3 separate regions of the Homo sapiens genome follow, and regions 1 and 2 are each linked to region 3. The links are contacts of gene promoters, found by promoter capture Hi-C in blood cells and fetal thymus (Javierre and others, 2016). All regions are on one chromosome and are shown on one strand. Each heading gives the region's core, a stretch centred on a gene start or on the middle of the fragment in contact. The rest is flanking DNA. Distances are from core to core; before and after follow the strand shown.

What was found. Contacts are between HindIII fragments. The CHiCAGO score rates a contact against its expected background, and 5 or more counts as called.
Region 1: a contact is called between a fragment that was not itself captured here and the fragment with the promoter of AUH in region 3, in 1 of 17 cell types (total CD8 T cells). The highest score is 5.3, in total CD8 T cells.
Region 2: a contact is called between a fragment that was not itself captured here and the fragment with the promoter of AUH in region 3, in 3 of 17 cell types (activated CD4 T cells, total CD8 T cells and endothelial precursors). The highest score is 9.1, in activated CD4 T cells.

What each region holds. Positions count from the first base shown.
Region 1 is chr9:91,168,997-91,172,924 of GRCh38, reverse strand. All of the region lies in intron 2 of LINC00484 (long intergenic non-protein coding RNA 484), which reads right to left. Among named protein-coding and RNA genes, the nearest start is that of LINC02937, 7.7 kb to the right of the region's middle. The HindIII fragment of the contact is 4,198 bases long and covers 473-3,928 here.
Region 2 is chr9:91,214,722-91,218,740 of GRCh38, reverse strand. AUH (AU RNA binding methylglutaconyl-CoA hydratase) reads left to right here. Exons shown (of 10, transcript NM_001698.3): 8 at 1,414-1,464; 9 at 2,635-2,682. Among named protein-coding and RNA genes, the nearest start is that of LINC02937, 53 kb to the right of the region's middle. RefSeq lists an enhancer at 860-1,460. The HindIII fragment of the contact is 968 bases long and covers 1,703-2,670 here.
Region 3 is chr9:91,360,142-91,364,261 of GRCh38, reverse strand. It overlaps AUH (AU RNA binding methylglutaconyl-CoA hydratase), which reads left to right and starts at 2,344. Exons shown (of 10, transcript NM_001698.3): 1 at 2,344-2,634. The coding sequence starts at 2,373. RefSeq lists a silencer at 2,174-2,613. The HindIII fragment of the contact is 2,357 bases long and covers 1,634-3,990 here.

The DNA.
Region 1 (3,928 bases), core at 1,322-3,821, 190 kb after region 3:
TGAGATTACTGAATTGAATGGTAGTTCTATTTTCAGTTCTTTGAGAAATCTCCATGCTGTTTTCCATAGAGCACTTACTAATTTACATTCCCACCAATAGTATATAAGTTCCCTTTTCTCTGCATCCTTGCTAACATCTGTTATTTTTTGTCTTTTTAATAATAGCCATTCTGTCTGGTGTAAGATGATATTTCATTGTGTTTTTAATTTGCGTTTCTCTGATGATTAATGATTTTGAGCATTCTTTCTTATGTTTGTTGGCCATTTGTATGTCTTCTTTTGAAAAATGTCTATTCATGTTCTTTGCCCACTTTTTAATGGGATTATTTGAGGTTTTTTTGTTGAGTTGTTTGAGTTTCTTATAAATTCTGACTGTCAGTCCCTGTCAAAATGCATAGTTTGCAAATATTTTCTCCCATTTCACTAGTTGTTTGTTCACTCAGCTGATTATTTCCTTTGCTGTGCAGAAGCTTTTTAGTTTAATTAAATCCCATTTGTCTGTTTTTGTTTCTGTTGCCTGTGCTTTTGAGGTCTTGGTGATGAATTTTTTGCCTAGACCAATGTTGAGAAGTTTTCCCTAGGTTTTCTTTTAGTACTTTTATAGTTTCAGATCTTACATTTAATTCATCTTGAGTTGACTTTTTTTATCTGGTGAGAGAATACGATCCACTTTCATTCTTCTGCAAATGACAATCCAGTTTTTCTAGCACAATTTACTAAAAAGAGTGTCCTTCCCCCAGTATATGTTCTTGTTGACTTTATCAAAGATCAGTTGGCTATAAATATGTGATTTTATTCCTGTGTTATCTACTCTGCTCCATTGATTTGTGTGTTTATACCAGTTCCATGCTGTTTTGGTTACTGTAGCCTGGTGGTATAATTTGAAATCAGATAATATGATGGCTCCAGCTTTGTTCTTTTTGCTTGGGATTGCTTTGGCTATTTGGGCTCTTTTTCAGTTCCATATGAATTTTAGGACTATTTTTTTCTAAATCTGTGAAAAATGATGTTGGTATTTTGGTAGGGATTGCATTAAATTTGTAGATTGTTTTTGACAGTATGGACACTTTAATAATATTAACTCTGATCAATTAGCATGGGATGTTTTTCCATTTGGGTTATCTACAATTTCTTTCATCAGTGTTTTGTAGCTTTCTTGGTAGAGGTCTTTCATCTTCCTGGTTAAAAATATTCCTAGATGTTTTAATTTTTTGGTAGGTATTGCAGATGGAATTGCCTTCTTGATTTGGTTCTCAACTAGATCATTATTGATATGTAGAAATGCTACTAATTTTAGTAGATTGATTTTGTATCCTAAAATTTTCCTGAATTTATTTATTGAATTGAAGAGTTTTTGATGGAATGTTTAGGGTTTTCTAGATGTAAGAATGCATCATCAGTGAACAGGGATAATTTGACTTACTTTTTTCCAGTTTGGATGCCTTTTATTTCTTTCACTTGATTGCTCTAGCTAGGACTTCCAGTACTATGTTGAATATGGGTGGTGAAAGTGGGCATCCTTGCCTTGTTCCAGTTCTTGGAGGGAATGCTTTAGACTTTTCCCCATTTAGTATGGTGCTGGCTGTGGGTTTGATGTATATGGGCTTTATTATTTTGAGGTATTTTCCTTCTGTGCCTAGTTTGTTGAGGTTATCAATTTATCATGTAAGGGATGCTGAATTTTATAAAATGCTTTTTCTGCATCTGTTGAGATGATCATATAGTTTTTGTTCTCAATTCTGTTAAGTGATGTTTCACATCTATTGCTTTATGTATGTTGAACCATCCTTGCATTCCTCATGTAAAATCCACTTGATCAGTTCTCAAATTGATCCATGGATTCAATGCAATCCTAATCAAAATTTTAGCAAAGAATTTTTTGTAGAAGTTGAGAAACTGATTCTAAAATTTACTTGAAAATATAAAGGACCTACATTAGTCAAAGACATTTTTAAGAAGTTGGAGGGCTGACACCACTTGATTTTAAGACTTCCTACAAAACTACAGTAACCAAGTAGTATGGTAATACTGAAATGTTAGATACATAGAGCCCTTGAACATAAGAGGGATAGTCATAGACAGGCAAAGATAGCCATAGATAATCAATTTTTAACAAAGATACCCACTCAAATTAATGAAGAAAGAAATGTTTTTTTCAACAACTGAGTATATGCATAAGGAAAAAATGAACATCAACTCTTACCTTGCTCTGTATACAAAATTCACTTGAAATGACCATACACATAAAAATCCTAGAAGAAAACATAGGAGACAATCCTTGCAACCTTGAGTGGCATATGTTTTTTACATAGGATACATAAAGCACAATCCATAAAAAATTGATAAACTGGACTTATCAAAATTTACAGCTTTTGCTTTTCAAAGGCACTACTAAGAAATGAAGGCAAGTCACAGAATAGGAGGAAATATTAGCAATACCTATATCTGATGATAACTTGTAATCACAAAACATAAATTGTGCTTAAATCTTAATATTATGGCTGGGTATAGTGGCTCACATCTGTAATCCCAGTGTTCTGGGAAGCCAGAGTGGGAAAATAGCTTGAGCCCAGGGGTTTGAGACCAACCCAGGCAACATAGTGAGACCCCATCTCTACAAAAAAATTAAAGATATAGTCAGGAGTGGTGGTGCATGCCTGTAGTCTCAGCTACTCAGGAGGCTAAGGTAGGAGGATCACTGAAGCCCAGGAGCTCAAGGCTGCAGTGAGCTATGATCATGCCATTGTATTCCAGCTTGGGCAACAGAGTGAGACCATGTCTCCAGAAAAGAAAAAGAAAAAAACCTCAAAATAGTAAAAGGACAGGCTTTTTTTGCAGATGCTGCCACCACCCAGGGCCCCCTGCCACCAACCATGATGGACATCACCGATAATGGTGAGCCCTTGGGTTGTGTCTCCTTCTAGCTGTTTGCAGACCAAGTTCCAAAGACAGCAAGAAACTTTTGCACTCTGAGCATTAGAGAGAAAATATTTGGTTATAAGGATTCCTGCTTTCACAGAATTATTCCAGGGTTTATGTGTCAGGATGGCGACTTCACAGGCCATAATGGCACTGGTGGAAAGTCCATTCATGGAGAGAAATTTGATGAAAACTTCATCCCAAAGCATACAGGTCCTGTCATCTTTCCATGGCAAATGCTAGACCCAACACAAACGGTTTCCAGTTTTTCATCTGCTCTGCCAAGACTGAGTGGTTAGAAGGCAAACATGTGGTCTTTGGGAAGGTGAAAGAAGGCATGAATATCTCAGAGGCCATGGAGCACTTTGGGTTCAGGAATAAGAAGACCAGCAAGAAGATCACCATTGCTGACTCTGGACAGTCTAATACATTTGACTCGTCCTTTATCTTAACCACCAGACTACTTTTTCTGTAACCTGGAGACCACCCCTCCACCCCATTTGCTCACAGTAGCCTATCATCTTTTGCTATCGATGCATTTTTTTTTTTTTTTGAGATGGAGTCCCCTCTATTGCCCAGGCTGGAGTGCAGTGGCACGATCTCAGCTCACGGCAACCTCTGCCTCCTGGGTTCAAGCGATTCTCCTGCCTCAGCCTCCTGAGTAGCTGGGACTACAGGCAAGCGCCACCATGCCCAGCTAGTATTTGTATTTTTAGCAGAGACAGTGTTTCATCATGTTGGCCAGGCTGGTCTCCAACTCCTGACCTCATGATTTGCCCGCCTCAGCCTCCCAAAGTGCTGAGATTACAGGCCTGAGCCACCGCGCCCAGCTGATGCATTCTTTAGGTTCCATATTTTCCTTATTCCCCTCCAGTTCTAGCTGGATTGCAGAGTTAAGTTTAAGATTATAAAATAAATATTAAATAACAACAAAAATAGTAAAAGGACAAAGAATACAATGTATACATGGGCAAATTATTTGAACAGACACTTCACCAAAGAAGATATA
Region 2 (4,019 bases), core at 937-3,436, 150 kb after region 3:
CTTCCATTTATCTGAGAAAAAAAGGCTTGTAAAGAAGAAAAGGCACTGGAAATGTTTTAAGGAGGAAACAAATTAAATCAAGCACTATTTCTAATAGCATTTTGAATTTTCCTGTTTTTCTCATGGCTTTCTAAACTTTACTTCCCAAAGTGTGGTCTGTGGACCAGCAGCCTGGGCATCTCCTGGCAGCTTGTTAGACGTGCAGAATCTCAGGCCCATCTCAGACCCACTGAGTCCACATCTGCATTTTAACAAGGAGGATGGGGATTTGTGTGCATCTAGGAGTTTGACAAGCACCTTTTCTTGGTCAGTTGACAATGAAAATGGAAAAATTAGAGGAGCACACCATTTAATAAAATGGATTGATTATCATGAAAAAAATGGTGGTGGTGTCTATGATATATACAAATCACAGTGGGAAGAATTATCAATAAGATATTTGTCTAACAACTATAGCCTTGGAAATTGTGGCCTTTGAAAAAGATTTGTAAACATGATTTGGAAGAAAATTTAGATAGGTCAAATTTAATAATAGAAACTCCTTGATAGGAAAACATGTCTTTTCATGCATTTATCCATGTCACCATCCAAGAGTCCTTTGCTGTGCCTGTTGTTTAGAGCCTACCTTGTGTTTTAATTCAAAAGAGCATTCAGTTCAAAATATAGCATTGAATTCACATTTATTACCCATAAATGGTATTTTAGGACTTTAAAATGTGATCCAATAATGAAATTCCATCTGAGGGATTCTGGTTTTTCTGCTTGGTAAGAGTTTGGCTTCTGCAAGACACAGGTAACATTCTCCTTCTCACAACAGATATCCAGTTCATTCCTTGTGACTCTTCTGCATCCTGAAAGACTTATGTAGACTTCATATTTATGTGTGCTGTGGGAGCACTGCTTAGAGGACACTGTTGATTAATCCACCATCATTGCTGTTAGTTGTCAAGGCGAATGGAGGAAATATAGCCAGTGTCTGAAGGAGATGATATCAGAACCCTACCTTAATCAATAGCAACAGCCTCATCCCCAGCCCAAGCTTCTTTCAAAACCCCTAATTGGTGTGGTACTGAGGCAAAGACTACCTCCTTTTCCTTCCTCTACTTAACTTCTAGGAAGTGTTGCTGAAGAACAGCAAGCTCACAGCTGGACATGCACTACCTGCTCACCTTTAAGGATCCGGAGTTTGCAGCATAACAAAACATGTGGAATCTAAATAATGTGCTGATGTGGTTGTTGCAGTTGCTCTTTAATTACAGCCTTGCAAGGCTCAGAAAATTTTCCATCTAGTATCTGACAGCCATTGCTGGCTGTGCAATGGATCCAGTGGTGGGAATTCTGAATTTTACTGAGATATACGACATAATTTGCATAAAAAATAATTGAAGTCTGTTTCTTTAATTTGAATTTTAGGGACCTGTTGCAATGAGAGTGGCAAAATTAGCAATTAATCAAGGGATGGAGGTAGGTTCCTTAATGCTTGAGTTTGTTTTGGGAATGGAGAGTGGAGATTTAATTTAAATGAACCATGTTTAGACTTCTACATTTTTTTTAAAGTTCTAAAATATGGTTGTTTAAATGCTACTATTACTGAAAGCTACTGAAGTTCCTTGCAAGTACGTCATTTATTTCATTCTTACAGTTATTGCTAATTCAGTATCACAAGCACAGAATTCAGTAATTTTACCAGTGCCCTGAAGCTTATGACATGCTCATTATTCTTGCCATCCAGTTAACAGACAGATTTATTGGCTAGTAGTTCATAGAAAACCAAAATAACAGGGCATTCTGTGCATTTTTAGCATCAGTATTATATTATACAAAACATTCCAAGAACAGCTAGCTCTTTCCACCTTTAGCTTCTCAGTGTGCCTTCTACAAGGAGGCACACGCAATGCAGGTATAAGGTGAATCCATTGTGTGTCCTGGGGGTACCCCAGGGAGATGACTCCAAAAGAGTGAAGGCCCCAGGCCTGGGAGGAGGGGGTGGTGCACATACCCATTTATTGGACTTTTCATGGCAGTTATTATATTTTGGGTAACTTATGGGTATTTTGAAGAAAAGTGCTTCCTTCTTGGTAGACTAAGGAACCTCCGCATCTTCCTGGGCTGTATAGCAGTAAAAAGAGATTGACTTTATACAGTCAATACTGTATAACAGTAAATACAGTTTCATAAATTTGCAAAAGTATTTGATTGGTTTATTTAAATATTTACATAATGGTAACAATACCAATAGCAAATACCTTATATAGCCCTTACTATGTATTAAGCATCGTGTGTGTGTGTGTGTGTGTGTGTCGCGACATAAAGGCCTCACCTAGATTAACTCATTTAATCCTCACAATACTCCCATTTGGTGAGCATTATAATTAGCCCCTTGTTCAGACATGCCTCTTTGAAGCACAGAGAGGTTAAATAACTTCCCCAAGGTAACTCAGCTCCCAAGTGAGGGAGTCAGGACGAACCCAGGAAGCCTGGTTCTGTGTCTCATGTTGGTCACACTCTGATCTGCTGTACTATATCAAAGGATTGGGTGCTTTGGGGATAAGGTTATTCAATTTGAATTTCTGTTGAATATACCACATTTCGCAAAGTTATTTCTGCTGAAATGGATTATGTTTTTATTCTCAGGTCGATTTAGTAACAGGGTTAGCCATAGAAGAAGCTTGTTATGCTCAGGTATGTAATGCAATCACAAATTCAATGAGGATGACCCTTACAAATTATATTTACCTTCTGTATAATTCAAATGAATTTCACTGAGCAAGATTACCCTTGCGCCCATTCCAAAATCATACAAATGGGTTGAAATTAGTTGTTTCTGCTATTTGTTACCAGCTCTTATGACTGATTCTGTTCCACAGGAATGCCTCTTGTCTATATAATCTAGAAAACTCTTAGAGTAACTGAGTCAGTCCTGGGTGTGCAGGAGCTGTCTCTCTAGGCTTATGCTTTCTTTTGTGGGATTGGTCCTGGCCTCCCACTGCAATGTAGAGAGGTAGAGGAGAGTGGTGATGAGCGTGTGCCTGCCATGCAACCTGGGGTGAGACTGCTTGGCTTTTCCTGAACCTCTGATCTGTCTCTCCTGACCACTGAAAGTTCACTAATGAAATTATAGTTTTATTTTTTACACAGTCGGCCCTTTTCATCTGTAAGTTTTGCATTTGTGGATTCAACCAAGTGTAAATTGAAAATATTCAGGAAAAAAAAAGATGGTTGCATCTGTACTGAACATGTACTGACTTTTTTCCTTATTATTCCCTGAACAATATAGTATAAGAACTGTGTACATGCCATTTACATTATATTAGGTATTATAAATAATCTAGAGATGATTTAAAGTATACAGGAGGATGTGCGTAGGTAATATGATATGCAATTTTATTAATATATAAGGGACTTGAGCATCTGCAGATTTTGGCATCTGCAGGAGGTCCTGTAACCAATCCCCTGCAGATAACTGAGGGATGACTGCATACAAATTATTAGGTCTTCCTGGAGAGGAAAAAAAAAATGTTTTCCCTTTTTTGTCTTTCTCTGAAAGATAGAACTTTGTTTTAGGGCATCTGAAATAGCAAAAAAGTTTTGTTCTACCTTTCCTGGGAGTTGGAAACTGCATGAGCACTCGTTTAAAGGAGCAGTATCTAGAGTGTGACTCTGTGCCCAGCTTGTATATATAAATCACCACCTGTCATTGATGAGTACGTGCCATGAGGAAAGTGAATTACAAACGTCTTAGAAATAGCCTCAGAGCCCAAAGAAAAATTTTAAAAGCACATTTGGCCATAAATTACAACTTACTAAATGTAAACACCAGAAATTATTCAAGGTATTCTTCAGACCACAATGGAATTAAACTAGAAATCAATAAAAGAAAGACTGCTGGAAAAACCCAAAATATTGGGTGATTAAACAACATCCTTCTAAATAATGTTATATGTCAGAGATGTCTTGAGGAATTATAAAGTATTTTGAATTAAAATGAAAATACAACTTCTCAAAGTTTGTGGGATATA
Region 3 (4,120 bases), core at 1,095-3,594:
TCTGTGGAGCAGGAGGCCCCAGTCTGCAGCTGTGCTGCAGAGGCAACCAGGGAGTTCCCACCCCAACTCAGAAGGGGTGGGTCTCCCGCTTGTCCCTGGCTCCCGCCAGAGAGCGTGCAGCCCTGGCCATGCCTCCCTGCTGCAGCAGTAGGCCGTCTGGAGCAGCCGCTGCCATCTCTAGTACAGTAATTCTCATAATTTTATTTTGCCTTGGTATCCATTTTGAATATGTTTAACTTTCTCATATGAGAAGCAGGGCTCAATCACCTTTGATACAGTTTCCAGTTCTCTGCTTCCTCCCAGTTCTTCAATGTGATCCATCCAGATATCTGCTTAATGCAACTGCTTCCTGGTGACCATCTCCCTATGGGACAGGTAAATGCAGCCTGCTTGACTCACCTGTTGACCTCCATAACCCACATGGACTGTGTAGATGGGCTCCAGTGACCACCTCACAGTGACAGGGTGACTCCATGGAACTTGTGCCTGCTTGTTCTAAACTCACCAATTAGAACTTCCATGGGAAACTGCTTGGGTAACACGCTGGACCCCAACAGAGGCTTTAGCTCCACAAGTGCCCCTTCCTTGACCCCCTTCCACTGGCTGAACTCCCTGTCACCTCCAGATTTACCCTCCCTCTGGTGACCACAAGACCAAATTAGAAAGAAACCATAACAATAAAAATCACAACACCCAGCAGTCAACATGTACATCATTATCAGAAAAGAGGAAAGATACAAAGGAAGCAAAGTTTTCCTTGTAGTAAACTTCAGGAAAATTTTCCTGCATGGAACTTTACAAAAGATAGAATAAAAAGTGGGCTGTGCATGGTGGCTCACACCTGTAATCCCAGCATTCTGGGAGGTCAAGTTGGGTGGATCACTTGATGTCAGGTGTTCAAGACCAGCCTGGCCAACATAGAAACACCCATCTCTACTAAAAATACAAAAATTACCCAGGTGTGGTGGTGTGTGCCTGTGATCCCAGCTACTCAGGAGGCTGAGGTGGGAGGATCATTTGAGCCTGAGATGCAGAGGTTGCAGCGAGAGGCGATCACACCACTGCACTCCAGCCTGGCCGACAGAGCCAGAACCTGTCAAAAAATAAAAAATAAAAATAAAAATAAAAGTGCCTTCAACATCATTTTACAGCAGATGCAGTAATGGAATTCAGTCTACTTTTTGTTTCTACATTGGATAAAAGTTGAGGACATAATGAAGGATGTTTTGCTTAGGACTAAAAAATACAAGAAATTTCTGTGGCACTAGACGTATGCTCATAGCAGCACACTTTTCAAACAGTATTCTTTTTTTTTTTTTTTTTTTTTTTTGAGACAGAGTTTCACTCTTGTTGCCTGGACTGGAGTGCAATGGTGCAGTCTCAGCTCAGGGCAACCTCCGCCTCCCGGGTTCAAGCAATTCTCCTGTCTCAGCCTCCCGAGTAGCTGGGATTACAGGCGTGTGCCGCCACACCTGGCTAATTTTGTATTTTTAGTAGAGACAGGGTTTCACCACGTTGGCCCGGCTGGTCTCAAACTCCTGACCTCAGGTGATCCACCTGCCTCGGCCTCCCAAAGTGCTTGGATTACAGGCGTGAGCCACCGCCCCCTGCCCAGTATTCTTAAATGCAAGCTTTCCCATTAGAGATCTGATAAAAGCTAGGTAGCATTAATTATACTGCAACGTGCTTTGATGAGTACCTACACACTAAATTGATATCCCGAGTTTCTGGAAGAGCTACATACTCTAAATCCCATCTCAGCGTATGGCTTGTTTGAACCCCTGTAAGACTCTTTCCGTCCAGGAAGGGCCATGGGACATCGGTACGAGTGGGTGGGCTGGAGAAAGAACTCCTTTGCCTGTTTGCTGTTCTCATCCTTTTCCTGAACGCCACGTAGTAAACATCATTTATGCTTATCAGGGACGCTAAACCAACAACCTGAGATCCATAAGTAAGGCAGTGACCAACGATGGGCTGCCACACTTTCAGCCAACTTGAGGAGACAAAACTTTTTTGTTCACTTTTGCAGCTTACTTAACACAGGACCGCAGGGCATGGTCCAGGGAGTACGGGGAGATAATTCCCTCCGGGTGGTTCTTATAGAAAAGTCTTCCCTGAATTATTCCATAACCTTGGAAAACTACTTTCTTTCCTTTTGTATTGGACAAACCATCCAATCTCGCTTGGAGAATGGGGCAAGGCCTCGGGTCACCGGGCTTCGGCGGGGCAGTGAGGGGCGGGAACACGGCTCCGGAGGGCGGGGCCAAGCCGGAGCGAGGCGGCGGGTCCGGACGCCGTGCGCGTGCGCGCGGCAGGTCGGCGCCGGGCGGGGGCGGAGCGGCCGTCGCAGGTCCACGCCGTAAACAGACAACATGGCGGCCGCGGTGGCGGCGGCACCTGGGGCCTTGGGATCCCTGCATGCTGGCGGCGCCCGCCTGGTGGCCGCTTGCAGTGCGTGGCTCTGCCCGGGGTTGAGGCTGCCCGGCTCGTTGGCAGGCCGGCGAGCGGGCCCGGCGATCTGGGCCCAGGGCTGGGTACCTGCGGCCGGGGGTCCCGCCCCGAAAAGGGGCTACAGCTCTGAGATGAAGACGGAGGACGAGCTGCGGGTGCGGCACCTGGAGGAGGAGAACCGAGGTGAGGTGCGAACGCTGGGCAGGCGCGGGGCAGCGGGCGGCCGCTCGCTCTCAGGACGGGCATAAGGTGCAGCGTCCGCCGGCAGGACGCGGGGTCGAGGTCAGGCAGGCGCACCGAACCTGGGTCCCTCCCCTTTCTCACCTCCCTACTCACCCAGCGTGGCCGCTTCCTTGTGCACCTATTTCTTGCTTTTAATAACCTAAACGTGTACCCCCGAGCAGCTTACCTGTAAAGTGACCGCATTCAGCGCGGCAAACAGAAGTGCAGCTTACGCCCTCCGCTCCAGACAAGCCAAGGTCAATATATACCCTGGGGATTTAATCCTTGCTACCAGGCTTTATTGTTGCTGTGTAATGGCTTTCTGTAAACTCAGCTATTAGTGGTGGAGTTGTAAAAGCTGCGGTGAAACTGCCTTTTATTATTACGGAGAATCTTAAATTTGAAGCTGCTCAGCTGGAACAATTTTTCCTCTTGTTCATTTTCTCTTAGAAAGTTAGTCTTGAGGGACTGTTCCACTTCATTTAAACAATTTTGAGCACTTTTTATTTTCCTCAGCTCTGGCGATAAGAATGTGGATGGTATGGATCTTGCCCTTGAGCTACCTTCTACGGGAGGAGACATCATTAGCAATACAATACAGAGCTTTGAAGGCTTTGAAGGAGGCTGACAATCCTAGGGAATACTGTTACAGCTCAGTTCCTTTCACTGGCAGTGCAGGGAAAAGCTAAAAGGGTCGTGAAGGGTGGAATAGCAGTTTCCACCCTTAACCTCCGGGTTAAGCCAGAGGACCAGTGTTTTAATTTTGACATGCATTTGTTGAGCACCTATAATCTGTTAAGCAGAAGTGAAAAGCGTGTAAGTCGTGATTGGTTTTAGTGTAGTGAAGCAGATCCTGGTTATTAGTAGGCTGTGTGAACTTTCAAGGCATGGTAAGAGGAAAGGGCTGTAATACCTGCAGGGTTTCGCCATTTGAAAGGGGTTCCAAGGCATTCTTTAATAGGCAGTGGATTTTGCCATTTGTGAGGGTTCTTGGGCAGACTTATCTCACGTGTAAAACAGGAAAAACAATACCAACTTTATAGGTTTGTTATGAAGATGAGATGAGATTGTTAATGTAAATTGCCACTAGCACGTAGCAGTGCTTCAGGAGTGTGATGAATGACTTTATTCCTTACTTATTATTCCAGACAGAGACAAGAACATGGTCAAAGGCATGGAGATGTGAACATGTGTGGTGTATTTGGGACGTAACATAAGGCAAGTGTGGCATAAGCAGAATAGTAAGAAATTCAGCTGGAAGCATAGACTAGCACTGGAGTGATTAGAGCCTGAATGCCATCATCTTTTGGGTAAGCTTAGTCATGCCGGGACTTCACTTCCGTTAAGTGTACCAACAATATGTTAGATATAAAGGGATTGCAAGTACAGCTACTAATATGCACCATATTCTATTTTTTTGGTCGTTATGACTTGAATGCAATTAAAG